3 separate regions of the Homo sapiens genome follow, and all the other regions are linked to region 3. The links are contacts of gene promoters, found by promoter capture Hi-C in blood cells and fetal thymus (Javierre and others, 2016). All regions are on one chromosome and are shown on one strand. The core of a region is centred on a gene start or on the middle of the fragment in contact, and the rest is flanking DNA. Distances in the headings are between cores, read along the strand shown. Region 1 overlaps ATF2 (activating transcription factor 2). Region 2 overlaps ATF2 (activating transcription factor 2). Region 3 holds the start of GPR155 (G protein-coupled receptor 155).

Evidence for each region. The method cuts DNA at HindIII sites, captures the fragments that hold promoters and counts their contacts. A CHiCAGO score of 5 or more calls a contact.
Region 1: a contact is called between a fragment that was not itself captured here and the fragment with the promoter of GPR155 in region 3, in 1 of 17 cell types (naive CD8 T cells). The highest score is 5.3, in naive CD8 T cells.
Region 2: a fragment that was not itself captured here is called in contact with the fragment with the promoter of GPR155 in region 3 in 4 of 17 cell types (naive CD4 T cells, non-activated CD4 T cells, naive CD8 T cells and 1 more); the score reaches 7.8 in naive CD4 T cells.

Annotation. Positions count from the first base shown.
Region 1 is chr2:175,131,334-175,134,718 of GRCh38, reverse strand. The region is part of intron 3 of ATF2 (activating transcription factor 2); the gene reads left to right. Among named protein-coding and RNA genes, the nearest start is that of MIR933, 35 kb to the left of the region's middle. The HindIII fragment of the contact is 1,643 bases long and covers 726-2,368 here.
Region 2 is chr2:175,160,835-175,164,462 of GRCh38, reverse strand. The region is part of intron 1 of ATF2 (activating transcription factor 2); the gene reads left to right. Among named protein-coding and RNA genes, the nearest start is that of MIR933, 5.1 kb to the left of the region's middle. The HindIII fragment of the contact is 8,086 bases long and covers 1-3,628 here.
Region 3 is chr2:174,485,589-174,488,907 of GRCh38, reverse strand. It overlaps GPR155 (G protein-coupled receptor 155), which reads left to right and starts at 1,879. Exons shown (of 16, transcript NM_152529.7): 1 at 1,879-2,035. GPR155-DT (GPR155 divergent transcript) reads right to left here and starts at 1,520. Exons shown (of 3, transcript NR_183819.1): 1 at 1,492-1,520; 2 at 1-873. RefSeq lists silencers at 1,739-1,918, 2,182-2,364 and an enhancer at 2,259-2,328. The HindIII fragment of the contact is 1,758 bases long and covers 1,098-2,855 here.

The sequences.
Region 1 (3,385 bases), core at 298-2,797, 650 kb before region 3:
AGCCACTGCACCCAGCTAAAGTGGCAATTTTCTAATTATTTTATTCTTCTGCACTTGTTGAAATTCTATAAAAGACTTTTCCTTCATCAACTCTTTGGTTACTGGAAATACATTTTATGCACAAAAGGCAGATTAAACACACTGATCTTTTTTCTTTCTTTCTTTTTTTTTTTTTTTTAAACCAGTTTTCAGATGAGTGCATTTTCTTAGTTGTTGGGTTGTATGACTTGTCTGTCAAGCCCTTACTGGTTTGCTGTATGCCAGGCTTTTCTTTCAATCTCTTACTCCACTTCTACTTAGAGTCCTGTGAAAATCAGTCGTTTTTTTTAGATATACAGTTGTTCCTCAATATCTGTGGGTGATTGGATCCAGGATCTCCTGAAGATACCAAAATTTGAGGATGCTCCAGTTACTTATATAAAATCGTGTAATATTTGTGTATCACCTATGCACATCCTCCCGTATACTTTAAATCATCTCTAGATTACTTTTAATACCTACTACAATGCATATGCTGTGTGAATAGTTGTTACACTATATTGTTTAGGTAATAATGACAAGAAAAAAAGTCTGTACATGTTTAGTACAGATGCAGTTTTTTCTCACATATTTTTGATCCAAGATTGATTGAATCCATGGATGCAAAACTCATAGATACAGAGGGCTGACTGTACATATTCTTTTATTTTTAATTATTTTTTATAGTTTGTGTCCTTCTCAAAGCTTCTGTAAGGTTTCCTGGAACACACTGTCTCTGGATGTAGTTACCTGTATAATTTTTGTCTTTTTCCTAGTATTAGGTTAAATAACTGTTTGCTCCTTTTTTGCTTTTTATTGAGGTATAATTTAAACAGAATAAAATGCACTATGTAGAGTAAAATCTGTTTTATCAATCTTTTCTTTTATGGACCTTTTGTGTCCTGTTTAACCTTTGCCTACTCCAAAATCATGAAGATTCTTTCCTATTTTTCTTCTAGAAACTTATGCTTTGCCTTTCACTTTTAGGTCTATGATCTACTGTGACTTAATTTTTAGTATAATGTGAGATAGAATTCATGGGGCATTTTTTAAAGTTATGAATCCTTAATTGACATAACATTAAGGTCACGAAAAGTCCTGTGAAATGAAGCCTACACATTCAACATTTCCCAAATTTATTTGGCTAAAAATCTTTTTTCCATGATAGCTACCATGCTTTGGGAAACATTGATCTAAAGCACTGATAAACTACTGTTGTCAAGGGAATATTACATAATTATTATTAGTTGAGTCAAGTACTCTTGCTATATAAAATTTCTAGAACCAATTATTGAAAAGACCATCCTTTTCCCACTTAACTGCAGTTGAGCATTTGTACAAATCAGGTAGCCTTATGTGTGGTTCCATTTCTGTACTCCTTCTTTTCCATTTCTTTGTATGTTTATCATTGGACTGATACCACAGTGTCTTAATTATTGTAATTTTATAATGGGTCATGATATCTGGTAATAAAAGTCCTCTAGCTTAATTACAATTCTTCATGACTGCCTTGTTTATTCATTGTCTTTTGCATTTTGTTACAGATTTTTCAGTTTCTACACATACATAAAAGCACTGGGATTTATTTTATTTATTTATTTTTTTTTTTTTTGAGACAGAGTCTCACTCTGTTGCCCAGGCTGGAGTGCAGTGGTACAGTCTCAGCTCACTGCAACCTCTACCTCCCCAGGTTCAAGTGATTCTCATGCCTCAGCCTCTCTCAAGTAGCTGGGACTACAGGTGTGTGCCACCATGCCCAGCTTATTTTTTAATTTTTAGTAGAGACAGGGTTTCACCATGTTGGCCAGGCTTGTCTCGAACTTCTGACCTTAAGTGATCCACCTGCCTCAGCCTCCCAGAGTGCTGGGATTGCAGGCATGAGCCACCACACCTGGCTGAAGAACAAAACTGATATAATAATTTTGGTTTGTATCTATTTAAAGATACTGAATTCATTACTTAAAACCACCCAGAAGAGAAACCTCCAGGCTCAGATAGCTTCACTGGTGAATTCTTCCAACATTTAAGGAAGAATTAGTACCTATCTTATGCAGATTTTTCTAGAGAATGGAAAAGAATTAACATGACCCAATTCTTATAAAGCCACTGAACTTAGATACCTGGCAAGGTTATTTCTTATGACATAGATTGTAAACATCTTAAAATACGAGCAAAAGGGAGGATTTATTTAAGAAATTCTGGTTTGTTTGTTCAACATTCAGTGTGATATACCACATTAAAACAATAAGAGAAAAAAATAGTATCTGAATAGATGCAGAAAAAGCATTTGATAAAGCTCAATGTCTACTCATCATTAAAACTCGCAGGAAACTAGAAATTGGAGGAAGCTTTCTTAATCTGATAAAGAGTATCCGAAAAAAATCTGCAGCATCTGCTTTCTCCCTGAGATTTACGTGTATTTTTAAGACTAGCATCTGCACAGTGCAATAAAGCTAAGCACAATAAAATGAGATATGCCTGTACCAGGAATTCTCATAATGTGAGAGCGGTCTGTGAAGTCAAAAACATTTTTATAATAATACTAAAATATTTACCTTTTTAAAATTCTCATTATCTCACAAGGATTTGATGCCATTTTCTAGAGGATACATGATGATATCACAACAGGTTGAATACCAGAAGCACATAGGAGAATTCAGCTGTGTTATACTCTGTTAAGCCAGATGTTAAGGATTTGCAAAAAGTGGGAAATAATGCCTTTCTCACTAAATTTTTTGTTTTGAAAATATATTGTTTTAAAAAATATGTGTTAACATGCAGTGAGTTCATTGTTATTTTTAAATCATAAATTAATATTTTTAGAATTTCTCAGTTTTAATTTCTGATGTGGTCAGTATTGATAGTACATAAACAAAAACGTTCTTTGGGAGCCTAAATTTTTAAGAGTGTAGAGGATCCTGTTTGAGAACTGCGGTGCCATACTGTTCTCACTCATTATTTAGTAAGTTTTACTAGTGGTCAGTTACAGCCAATCTTGTTAGAATACTTTGCTCTTACTTAAAAATTTATATATCAGTATTCCTTAGTTTGTAAACATTTAAGAAGCACTAGAAGGATAATATGTTATTTAGATAAATCGCAGATATCATGAGGAGGTGTTCCAAATTTAGTTATAAAATAGCTTATAATGCTCACAGATTGTGTAGGTCAAAAATTTGTACAGGGTACAAGAAAATGGCTTGTCTCTGCTTTTTGTCTCTGCCTAGTACTGGCACCAGCAGCAGGCATTTGCTATTAATAAACTGTGATTCTCAGTGTCTGCCTCAGTCTTAACTTTTCAGGGCACTGCCCTTTGACCTCATTTCTCTGATGGATGTAAGAAGAGTTGATGATTTTCCGTTTGTTT
Region 2 (3,628 bases), core at 621-3,120, 680 kb before region 3:
TCCCGGATTCAAGCGGTTCTCCTGTCTGAGCCTCCCGAATAACTAGGATTACAGGGGTGCACCACCATTCCCTGCTGATTTTTGTATTTTTAGTAGAGATGGGGTTTCACCATGTTGGCCAGGCTGATCTCGACTTCCTGGCCTCGAGTGATCCACTCGCCTTGGCCTCTCAAAGTGTTGGGATTACAGGCGTGAGCCACTACACTAGGCCTATTTTTACACATTATTTTATAATATAAATATATTTAATGTTACATATTATATAAATATAAATAAATATGTATTCATTATATGTGTCTTTTCAATTTGTTGAGACTTTTTGACAACCTTGAAACTGGTGTATTCATTTTCACTTTTAAGGCATTACAGGCATGAGCCACTGCACCCGGGCCTATTTTTACACATTGTGTTACAGGTGTATTTAATGTTACATATTATATAATTATAAATAAATATGTATTCATTATATATATCTTTTCAATTTATTCTTGTTGGCAACCTTGAAACTAGTGTATTCATTTTCACTTTTCTTTTTTTTTTTTTTGAGACGGAGTTGCTATGTCACCCAGGCTGGAGTGCAGTGCCGCTCTCAGCTCATTGTAACCTCTGCCTCCCAGGTTCAAGTGATTCTCCTGCCTCAGCCTCCTGAGTAGCTGGGATTACAGGTGCCCGCCACCACACCTGGCTAATTTTTGTATTTTTAATAGAAACGGGGTTTCACCATGTTGGCCAGGCTGGTCTCGAACCTGCCTCGGCCTCCCAAAGTGTTGGAATTACAGGCATGAGCCACCACCCAGCATCATTTTTCATTTTTTAAGTATGTTTATTGATTTTTTTTCCTTGGCATTTTGACATTGACAGTAAAGAAGAGATGTAAACAATGTTTTGGGGGCTTTGCCTATTCACCCATATTTGCATTCTGTATCTTAACAAAGATAGTGGTTCTCAGCCACTTTTTTGCCTTTCTACCCAAGGAATACAAAATACTTCCAACAGTAGTAGTGGCTTATTACCACAGAGATTCTCAACAAGACTGGTAGGGAAAGACAGGGAGAAATAATTGTAATTGGCAAAATACCATATGGACTTTGGTTATTTTTGTAATATATAGTATTTTTATCTATAATATTGACCATAAGTTTATAAATATATTCCCTAAATATTCTTTAGTTTGCTAGCAGAACCGAAACCTTTGTCATTCTAATTTTTTTAGCTTTGCTCCAATGTTATAGCTTTGGTTTTTCTAATTTTACTGTTCGGGCTAGTATGTTTGCTTGCATTTATTTATTTATTTATTTATTTATTTATTTATTTATTTATTTATTTTTTGAGACAGAGTCTCGCTCTGTTGCCCAGGCTGGAGTGCAGTGGCACGATCTTGGCTCACTGCAAGCTCCGCCTCCCAGGTTCATGCCATTCTCCTGCCTCAGCCTCCCAAGTAGCTGGGACTACAGGCACCCACCACCACGCCCGGCAAATTTTTTAATATTTTTAGTAGAGACGGGGTTTCACCGTGTTAGCTAGGATGGTCTCGATCTTCTGACCTTGTGATCCGCCCACCTCGGCCTCCCAAAGTGCTGGGATTACAGGCATGAGCCACTGCACCCAGCCTGCTTTTATTTATTAAACGTGTCGGAACAATTTTTTTATATATCAACTTGTTTTGCCATACTAACAAATAATTGTGTTCATTATTTTTGTTTTCTTCTAGTTTGTGCATATATATTGCAGTTTTTACAGAATTATATCAAATAAGTTTTATTTTACTTTTATAGCATTGTATTTTTCCATGTTGTATAACCTTTATGATATTTGATTGTTACTTGATAGTTGAAAAATAAGTATTAAATTTGTTCTAAATGCCTGACAGGAAAATAATAGTTTTCAGTTTATGCCTATTTTGACATTGAATTGAACATCTCTGTGCATTTTTTCTTTTATGAATTGTTTCTATAGGATACTAATCTCAAATGAATTACTAGTCAAAGGATATAAATGTTTCTACAGTTGCCAGATTTTTGCCTCCCCAAAGACTTGAGCGAGTTTACACTGTCAGCAGAGCATGAATGCGTTAGCTTTGCCATACTTTTGTGAACTTGGGAGTTATGATTAATGAAGCGTGATTACCTAATTGGGAATTATTTCTGGGAATAAGTTGTATTATTTAGCAGTTTTAAAATTATTTAGTTGGCCATATCATACTATAGTTATTTATCTACCAGTGATCTATGTGATGTGACAAATATTGTGTATTTCATATTTTCTGACATTTTACTGTCTTTGTTTCTTTTAAAGTTTACCAAAACTTTTGACAGACTGGTAACAATAATTCTTAGATTTCATGCAGTTTTATGTGGTTTGTACACTGAGTATTTTAATGCTAGTTTAAGAGTTAATTTCTGGGCTGGGCATGGTGGCTCATGCCTGTAATCCCACCATTTTGGGAGGCCTAGGCAGGTGGATCACCTGAGGTCAGGAGTTCGAGACCAGCCTGGCCAATGTGAGAAAACACCATCTCTACTAAAAATACAAAAATTAGCTGGGCATGATGGCGGGTGCCTGTAATCTCAGCTACTCGGGAGACTGAGGCAGGAGAATTGCTCGAACCTGGGAGGCAGAGGTTGCAGTGAGCCAAGATCACGCCAGTGCACTCTATCCTGGGCAACAGAGCGAGACGGTGTCTCAAAAAAAAAAAAAAAGAGTTACTTTCTGAACTATACATTTCATAGTTCTGTCTTATGAATGTGTCATTATGATTTATTAAGATTTATAATGACAAATTCATTTCCATGTAGGAAACACTTGGAATAAAGAAAGTGTATATGAGTATATGATAGCCAAATTGACTGAGTTTTGTCCCTGGCACATAGTTAAGTGTGTAATCAATATTTTAGGATAGTTATTAGAAGCCAGATTATCAGGGGTCTACCACTTACTGTGTTATCTTGAGTAAATTATATAACCTCTCTGCCTCAGTTTCCTTCTCTTTAAGGAGAATAATTTAACTCATAGTCTTGCTGTGAGCATTCATGTGATATATATACAATACTTAATACAGTGTCAAGAACTTAATGAGTACTCAGTTTGTGTTGTGGGAATTATTATTGAAGTTCATTCAGAAATAATCTAGCCTAGCCCTCCAGGCATGCTTGTGCTGTAGCTTGAAAGCAGTACAGCAACCATCTACTTGGTAGCTTTGGCAACAAAGTTATTTTTCCCTAAGAATTTATAATTTGTGGAGGAACATGCCACCTTAGAATTTTCGTAAATTCATTTGAGAGAATGTCTCATATTTTTTTGTTCCATATGTACCCCTTCTCAGACATTTTCTGTATCAAATTCCTTCAGTATAGCATATCCTTATTTTAAGATGATAAAATTATGATACTGTGATTTTCATAAAATCCAATTATCTTTGTATTTTTGAGACAAAGTCTTACTCTGTCATGCAGGTTGGAGTGCAGTGATGCGACTAAGTCTCACTGCGGCTTCCACCTCTGGGGCTCGAGAGATCTTCCCACCTAAGCCTCCCAAATAGCTGGGACCACACTCACATGCCACCACACTCAGCTAGTTTTTAAATTTTTGTAGAGATGGGGTCTTGCCGTTGCCCAGGCTGGTCTCAAAC
Region 3 (3,319 bases), core at 630-3,129:
GGCCTATCTTCCAGTATTCCCCTGATAGTCAATGCTCAATAAGTATTTATTTAATTGAATTAATCTTCATACTTCCTAAACAAAAATCCTTTTAGCCTTGAGATAATTTAGATCTTCAATTTTTTTTTTAAGTAGTCAGGTTCAAGGGAAACAAAGAAGGCAGTTAAAAGTGAGGAAGACAGAGAACAAAGGAGAAGCAAAGAGAACTGGAGCAGGATCCATGCCTTTTATAGCTTTAATTTCTGCTCATTTTTCCTGCTAAGTTTCAGATCCTTTAACCTACCCTTAGCTTACTGTAATTTTTCTTAATAAGCCACACAATTTTGTATCTTTGCACTAAGATGGCCGAGATGATAGGAAGACACGGAAATTGCCATACAGAAATGTTTAAGATGCAAAGCAAGATAAAAGGTTGTAAACAAATGCTTGTAGATATCTTAAGTGGAAACATATATAAATATTTTAAAATTTGAAATAATTTTTATTTCAAAAGGCTAACTCAATTGCAGGATTTCTTCAGGTTTCAAAGTGGAGCACCATATTTGGGATACTATATATAGGTTTGTTGTCTGATGCCCATGGCAAGTTAATACACTGGGACACCAGGTTGCAGAAGAGAAAGAGGTTTAATCATAGGGCCACCAAACACAGATAGGAGGAAACCTCAAATTCGTCTCCAGGAGGACTTTGAGTCTCAGGTTCTTAAGGGTTTTAGAGTGGTCCCAAGTGTGGAGATCATTAATTGGCTGAAGAGTACAGGGCGAAGTCATGGGACAGCGAGATGAAGAAGCTGTATTCTCATGCTGATTCCCTTCTTCTGTGGCAGGGGTCTTCAAGCTGGCTGGCATCAGCTGTTTCGCTGGAATTTGGCGTCTGAAAAACATTTTAAGCAATTCTTAAAAAGCCTTACGACTCTTAACATCAGAAAGCCTATCTATAGGGACAACGGGATACAAATGTACTATCTAGCTCTACCCGACTTTCGGGTTACAAGGAAGTGGGTCAAAGTGTAGCCTGATTAATGCTTAATTATATTTTTGTCCAGAATTCTTATAAACCCTGTGAGGATAGTTTCAATACCTTTATTTCAAGAAGCTTTGGAAGTTTTCCATCAATGTAACCAGTTTCAGTATACTGAGTGGACATGCATGTAGTTCCCCACCCCCACCCCACCCCCGTACCGCAATAGAATAGAAGCAGTCATGGACGGGGCCCAGATTCTAAAACAAGCTCAGGGCTAAGGGTTTACATTTTAATCTCTTATGTAGGAACGTCAAGGTCACACTGCCTTGGTGAAGGTGGAAGGCAGGATTTTGACCCAGGTCTGATTCTAAGCCCTTGCTTTAAAACTCTATGCTATAAAAAGTCCTGGGCTAACCGGGAGCGAAACTGGCAGATCACACGAGGTTGAGGTTAAGCGGAAAGACAAGTCTGCTCTGCGTCTGTACTTGGGAAGAGGAAAAAAAACTGGACATCCCCCACGGCGGCTACCATTTTGTGGGAGCAGGGAAGCCGGAAGTCCCGCCCCGGAGGATCGCGGCTGGGAGGCTCCCAGCCGGCAGGGCGGGGCCGGGTACCCTGGGGCTCCGAGGCTGGAGGAGGGGGCGGGGACTGAAGGCGGGGTTGGGGAACGTGTGGCTCGGAGGCCCGAGGCTGTGGGTGGGGCCTGAGGGCGGGACGGAGACTCTGGGCTCAAGGCTCCTGGAAATGGGCGGGGCTCGAGGGCGGGAAGCGGCCCGTCTTGCTGGAAGTTCGGGGCTGGGGGCGGGGTCTGAAGGCGGGGCTGGGAGGGAGCGGGGCCTGAAGGCGGGGCGGGGGCGGGGCCTCGCGGCCGGCGAGGGGCTGAGCTGACAGGGCCGCATCGGCTTACCCCACCTTACTTTATCGGAACGTGCCTAAGCTGCTGCAGCTGGCACCCGGTTGCGCTCGGCGAAGAGGGCTGGGGGCGGGAGATGACGGTGGTCTTCTCCCTGCTTGGCACCCTGCGAGCACCAGCTCCCTTCTCCTCGCCACTCCAAGGTTGCAGACGAAGCAGGTGAGAGGGGCCCCTGGAGCGCGGACCTGCTGGGTCCTGGTTCTCCCTTGCGGGCACGGGGTACCCCTGCCTCTGCCCCTCAGGCCTGGGCACGTGGGCAGCCGCCGACCCTCTGCGCCCTGGCCCCGCGGCCCGTTGTCTGGACCTGCTGTCTCTGCCCCGCAGCGCCTGCCTGTGGAACGTGTGAGATCACCCGGGAAGGCTCGCGCGGGGGAGGGGGTGTCTCGTCCCCTCCGGAGACAGAACTGCCATCCCTAGTTTGGGAAGCTCCTCACTGCACGGGCGTCCACCCTGTCTTTCTTAGACTCTTCCCTTTATCCCGAGGGTACCCTCAGTATCTGGCCCTTCCGAAGGCTTCTGCCCAGGCACCTGGAGCACTGCGCCAAATTTTCTCCCTTACCCGTTTTTGGGGTATGTTAGTTACCATGACGTTGTGACTCCCGTGCCCTGGGAAGACTAGCGACCACCTTTTTCTTACGCCAGGCAAAGACCCCTGGCTGCCTTTCCACTTCCACAGCTGCCTTCCCAGGGGTTGGCTGGCAGCTGCTCTCCGAGCAGCCTATTCGGTTAGGAACTCTCTGCGCCCCTTATCTTGGAGGGCCACAGTCTGTCCCTGCAGACGAGGCAAGGAGGCAGTGCTCAGCGCTCCCTACCCTGGGTCTCTAGGGAGGACATTTGGCGCCCTGCAAGTAGGTAGGAGTGGGTGAATGGTGCGACTATTAATGTTGAAGAGTGCTCTAATAGTACCACACTGTATTACACTTATCCCACGGGATAAAGGATGTTGGATGTTTGAGAAATAGCCTGAGAGTTTAAAGCTTTCTCTATGAAGTTAGTCAACCCTCGCCTTCCCCCCGCATTTTCACTTAATAGCAGTTATTTACAGTATCAGTGGTTCGTTTATGTGATCTAAGCCAAATGTGATGTGGCTAGAAGCGGTTTGTAAGTACAGTAGCATTTCTTCAGTTCGTGCCTCAGCGAGTGGTCTTTTACTGTGAACGTGTTTGTTCTGTAACAAGCTTTGTTTTTATAGATAAAAAGGCTGGATGTAATTTTTTTTTTAAAACTTCCCTTGCTGTGGTTCCTGTTCATTTTAAAATATGCTTTAGAAAGCATATTATCTTCCCGTTTAAAAAAGATTAGGATGAAATGAAACTTTTAAAGTCATTTTGATTATTTTGACTTTACCTCAGCAGGTATTTCTTTTATAATACTGAGAAACGTTAAAAGAAACCTCATGGGGAGGGGCAGATTGCTTTTTTTTTTTTTTTTTCTTGAGACGGA